2 separate regions of the Homo sapiens genome follow, and region 2 is linked to region 1. Evidence: promoter capture Hi-C in human tissues and cell types (Jung and others, 2019). All regions are on one chromosome and are shown on one strand. The core of a region is centred on a gene start or on the middle of the fragment in contact, and the rest is flanking DNA. Distances in the headings are between cores, read along the strand shown.

Evidence for each region. Contacts are between HindIII fragments. The study calls those that stand out against the background at their distance.
Region 2: a fragment that was not itself captured here is called in contact with the fragment with the promoter of AATK in region 1 in 2 of the 25 tissues and cell types used here (dorsolateral prefrontal cortex and small bowel).

Annotation. Positions count from the first base shown.
Region 1 is chr17:81,164,868-81,167,582 of GRCh38, reverse strand. AATK (apoptosis associated tyrosine kinase) reads left to right here and starts at 1,362. Exons shown (of 14, transcript NM_001080395.3): 1 at 1,362-1,645. The coding sequence starts at 1,591. PVALEF (parvalbumin like EF-hand containing) reads right to left here and starts at 2,076. Exons shown (of 7, transcript NM_001354639.2): 1 at 1,836-2,076; 2 at 739-906. RefSeq lists enhancers at 1,821-2,564, 2,565-2,715. The HindIII fragment of the contact is 13,495 bases long and covers 1-2,715 here.
Region 2 is chr17:81,503,806-81,506,520 of GRCh38, reverse strand. No RefSeq gene overlaps it. Among named protein-coding and RNA genes, the nearest start is that of ACTG1, 7.6 kb to the left of the region's middle. The HindIII fragment of the contact is 9,311 bases long and covers 1-2,715 here.

The DNA of each region.
Region 1 (2,715 bases), core at 113-2,612:
GGTCCTGGTGCCCATCTGCCCCGTGGCCCAAGCATCCTGTCCTGGTCTCTGCAGGTCCCTCTGCCGGGAACAGGCTCCTTTCTCTCCCTAAAGTCCTAAGAGCCCTGTTGGAGTGGGCGCCTCTCACCTGCTCCACAGCCCCCAACCCCAACTGGGCCTTGCCAAGGGGCTTAGCCATCTGGTCCCAGAATGAGTGAGTGAATGAATGAGTGAGTGAATGAATGAGTGAGTGAATGAATGAGTGGATGAGGGTGCATCAAACTCAACTGCAAGTCTCCAGGACACTTTTTTTGAGACAAGATCTTGTTGTCACCCGGGCTGGAGTGCAGTGGTGCCATCTTGGCTCACTGCGGCCTCTAACTCCCAGGCTCAAGTGATCCTCCCACCTCAGCCTCCCAAGTAGCTGAGACTACAGGTGAGCGCCACCATGCCTGGCTCATTTTTCTAATTTTTGTAGAGAAAGTGTCTTGCTATGTTGCCCAGGCTGGTCTGGAACCCCTGAGCACAAGCCACCCGCCTGCCCTGGCCTCCCAAAGTGCTGGGATTACAGGCATGAGCCACTGGGACCAGCTTCCACTGAACTTTAACTCTCCCGACTCCCACGGGGGCAGGCTGGGGGGACCCTGCCCCGCCCCAACCCTGCAAGGTGGCACTTTGGGCGGGGATGGGGGATCCTGGGAGAAACATAGGGGAAGGGATGGCCCCTCAGCGCCCAGGCCAACCTGCTGCCCTAAGCACCTGGTACAGTCCACGGCAGGTGGAGACTCAGCCAGGTTCTTCCTTCATGGCTGTCGCAGCACGGTACAGGAGCAGGCCTGTGTGCAAAGCCAGCCACCCCCACTCCACCAGCACAGGTGCCACCCAAAGGGCATGGGGTGGGGGGGCGGCTGCCAGCCGCCTCGAAACCTGCAAGTGAGGCGAGGGCCCCTGAGCACCAAGACCCGCCCTGGGTGTGCTCCCGGGTTCCCCCACCTGTCTCCCTGAACCTTTCCACCTAGGAGTACCCCCTCCCCCACCCCGGCGTTCCCTCCGTACCCACTCACGACTTACCATTCACGACTTCCGTTTCCCCCCCCCCCGCCAGCCTCCGTGCCCCCCTCAGCCCCAGGCCGCCGTGCTTCCCGCTCCGGACCATCCCCCCACTCCGTGCCATCCCCGCTCCGTGCACGGCCCCCCGTCCCCCCTCCTCCATGCCTCCCCTCCGTGTCCCCCCTCCAAGCCCCCTTCTGTGTCCCCCACTCCGTGCTCCCCTCTGTCTCCCCCTCCGTGTCCCCCTCTCCGTGCTCCCCCCATGCCACCCCGGCCGCGGAGGGCCCCCCCCTCCCCCGCGCCGCTCCGCGCGCGCTCCCGCCCGCGTTTTCGGACTGCACCAGCGGAGCCCCGCGGCGCCAGGGCCGGGCGGAGCGCCTCGTCTGTCGCCGCCGCCCCCACCGGTGCGGGCTCTGCGGCTGCGGCGGGGGGCGCGGGGCGCGGGGGCCGGCGCGCTCCGCACCTGCGGCGGCCGCTGGGTGATGCGGCGGCTCGGGCCGGGGCCGCGGGCGTCCTGAGCGCAGCGCCCTCCCGGGATGCCCGCCGGCCGCTGGCCCGGCCATGTCGTCGTCCTTCTTCAACCCCAGCTTCGCCTTCAGCTCGCACTTCGACCCCGGTGAGTCCCTGGCGGCCCGGCCTGCGCGCCGCTGCCTCCCTCCGCTGCGGACGTGATGCCCCTGGGCCCCACGGCTCCCGGTTTGCATGGAAATTAACCCTTTCCCCGCCCCGAGCCCAGCAGCAGAAGCAGCCGGACCCCCTGGCGGCCCCAGATCTCGGAGGGGCAGGCCCTGGGCCCCAGCACAAACCGGCCTCCGCCTGTGGGCTGGCGTCCCCCGCGTGGTCGTGACTCCGTGGCTGCCTCCAGGGCACAGGTAACTGGGGCACGGAGGGCCTGCGTGGGCCCCTGGTGTCCAGGAGAGTTGGTCTCAGACTAAGGGCCCTTGGGGGTGTGGGGGGTGTCAGCCAGCTGGGGTTCAGGCTTTCCATGGCCTCTCCTGGGTCCGGGGCCCTGGCGTGGGAGGCTTCTTCCCAGGCTGGGAGCGATTCTCAGAGCCCTGCCCAGCCACCAGCAGCCGGCGGGGGATGTGGGGGGAGCAGGGGCCAGTCCACATTACAGAGCCCAGTGGGCAGAGGCTCAGAAGAGAGGGGCCTTGGTGGGTGCCCAGATCCCCTGACAGTGGGGGCCCGAGGTGACGCTGTCAAGCTGGCTGCAGGGGACCTGAGGCCAGGCCTCTTACCCCGTATGGCCAGTGCACCGGGCAGGGCGAGATTACCCATGGCTGCCTGGCCTCCTGGCTGTGGTGGACAGCTGGGATAGGCAGAGGGGGCTGGGGACAGCTGGAAGCCCCATCTGTCACCAGGAAGCAGTGGGCTTTCTAAAACCTCTGCTTCTCCAGATCCGGCCCCTGCTTGGCCTGAGTGGGAGATAATCCCCCTGCCCTGTGCCATCCATGGCCCCAGGGCCAAGTCCCACCCACACGTCACTGGGGCTCTGGCACCAGGCTGAGCCAGCCCAAACAAAGCCTGTTTGCATGTGACGTGATCTCCTGTGTCTCCTTCCCTGGAGCAGGGCCCAGTGCACGCAGCCTGGCAGGGAGGCACGGGGGTCCCCGGGGCAGATCTCGGTCTGAAGGCATTTGCTCCCTGGAGGAAGGGAGCTGGTGGGAGGTCTGTCTGCTGGGCTTA
Region 2 (2,715 bases), core at 63-2,562, 340 kb before region 1:
CGCCACCGCGCCCAGCTAATTTTGTATTTTCGGTAGAGATGGGGTTTCTCCATGTTGGTCAGTCTGGTCTCAAACTCCTGACCTCAGGTGATCCGTCCACCTCGGCCTCCCAAAGTGCTGGGATTACAGGCATGAGCCACCGCGCCCGGCTGCAACAGCAATATATTGACTCAGAGGAGGACAGGTGCTGCTGAAAGGGGCTGAGAGAATCTGATCCTGGCTCAGCACAGCTGGGGATTGGCCTCCTCCATGGCCTTTTGTTTGTTTGCTTTTGTGTTTTTTTTGGAGACAGCATCTCACTATGTTGCCCAGGCTGAACTCCTGGACTCAATGGTCCTCCTGCTTAGGCCTCCCAAAGTGCTGGGATTACAGGCATGAGCCACTGCACCCAGCCTAGGACTCTTTTTGAAAAAACAACCACAAGCTGGGCGCGGTGGCTCATTCCTGTAATCCCACCACTTTGGGAAGCCGAGACGGGCGGATCACGAGGTCAGGAGTTCAAGACCAGCCTGGCCAACATGGTGAAACCCATCTCTACTAAAAATACAAAAATTAGCCAGGCATGGTGGCGTGCGCCTGTAATCCCAGCTATTCCAGAGGCTGAGGCAGGAGAATTGCTTGAACCCACATGGCAGAGGTTGCAGTGAGCCGAGATTGAGCCACTGCACTCCAGCCTGGGTGACAGAGCAAGACTCTATCTCAAAAAAAAAAAAAAAAAAAAAAAAATCACAGTATCATGCCCCCACCCACCAATTATTGATCGATACTTAGTATCATCTAATGTCCAAATTTCCTTGGTTGTCTTAAATTTTTTGTTGTTGTTTTGTTTGTCTGTTTTTTTGGGGGGACAGGGTCTTGCTTTGTTGCCCAGGCTAGAGTGCAGTGGCACAATCACAGCTCACTGCAGCCTCGACTTCCTAGGCTCAAGCAATCCTCCCACCTCAGCCGCTTGAGTAGCTGGGACTACAGGCGTGCACCACCATGCCCAGATAATTTTTAAACTTTCTGTAGAGATGGGGTCTCCCTATGTTGCTTAGGCTGGTCTCAAGCTCCTGGTCTCAAGAGATCCTCTCACCTCAGCCTCCTAAAATGTGGCGATTACAGGTGTGAGCCACCATGCCCAGCCTTAAATTTCTTTCTTTTTTTTTTTTGAGACGGAGTCTCACTCTGTCACCCGGGCTGGAGTGCAGTGGTGTGATCTCGGCTCGCTGCAAGCTCCGCCTCCTGGGTTCATGCCATTCTCCTGCCTCAGCCTCCCGAGTAGCTGGGACTACAGGCGCCCACCACCACGCCCGGCTGGTGTATTTTTAGTAGAGACGGGGTATTTTTTTTGTATTTTTTTGTATTTTTTTTGTATTTTTAGTAGAGACGGGGTTTCACCGTGTTGGCCAGGATGGTCTCGATCTCCTGACCTCGTGATCCACCCGCCTCGGCCCCCCAAAGTGCTGGGATTACAGGCGTGAGCCACCGCGACCCACCTAAATTTCTTTTAACGGTTGGTTTCCAATCATTGCACTTGGCCACTATGTCTCTTAAATCTCTTTTAACCGCGGGATTTACCCTCTTTCATTTTTCTCCTTTCAGGTTATTTGTGGAAGAAGGCAGGTCTTTTGTTCCAAAGGGTTCCACCTGTCTGGATTTTGCTGATTTCGTCCTTGTGGTTGATGTGGCACGTTCCTCAACCCTTATATTTCCTATAGTCAGTTAGCTCTAGGTGTAAATGTCCAAACTGGTCTGTTTAATCTCATTCAGGTTGATTTTTTTAGCAAGAAGATGACCACAGGGTGGGTGCAACTTCATGGAGAGGGAAAGAGTCCCACAGAGCCTGATGTTGTGATATTAGCAGCCATTGGAAATCCCTGCCAGGACCTGCTATTTCATTAGTGGTTACAAATTATTCTCCCCCTCCACTCCCCTCCCCTCCCTCTTTTCTCCTCTCCTCCTCTCCCTCCCTCCCTCCTTCTCTCCTTCCCTCCTTCCCTCCCTCCCTTTCTTTTTTGATGGAGTCTCACTCTCTCGCCGCTGGAGTGCGGCCTCCGCCTCCAGTTTCCAGCAATTCTCCTGCCTCAGCCTCCTGAGTAGCTGGGACTATAGGCGCCCACCACCACGCCTGGCTAATTTTTTTTTTGTATTTTTAGTAGAGATGGGATTTCACCGTGTTAGCCAGGATGGTCTTGATCTCCTGACCTCGTGATCTGCCTGTCTCGGCCTCCCAGAGTGCTGGGATTACAGGCGTGAGCCACTGCGCCTGGCCTATTTCTTTCTTTTTTTTAATGGAGTTTTGCTCTTGTTGCCCAGACTGGAGTCCGGTGGTGTGATCTCGGCTCACTGTAACCTCCACCTTCTGGGTTCAAGCGATTCTCCTGCCTCAGCTTCCCAAGTAGCTGGGATTATAGGTGCCCACCACCATGCCCCACTAATTTTTGTATTTTCTGTAGAGCCAGGGTTTCACCATGTTGGTTGGCCAGGCTGGTCTTGAACTTCTGACCTCAGGTGATCTGCCCACCTTGGCCTTCCAAAGTGCTGGGATTACAGGCATGAGGCACTGCACCTGGCCTTTTCTTTTCTTTTCTTCTTTTCTTTCCCTTTCTCCCTCCCTTTCTTCTCCCTTCCTTCCTTCCTTCCCTTCTTTCTTTCCCTCCCTCCCTCCCTTCTTTCTTTTTCTTTTTTCTTTCTTTCCTTTTTTCTCTCTTTCTTTTCTTTCTCCTCTTTCTT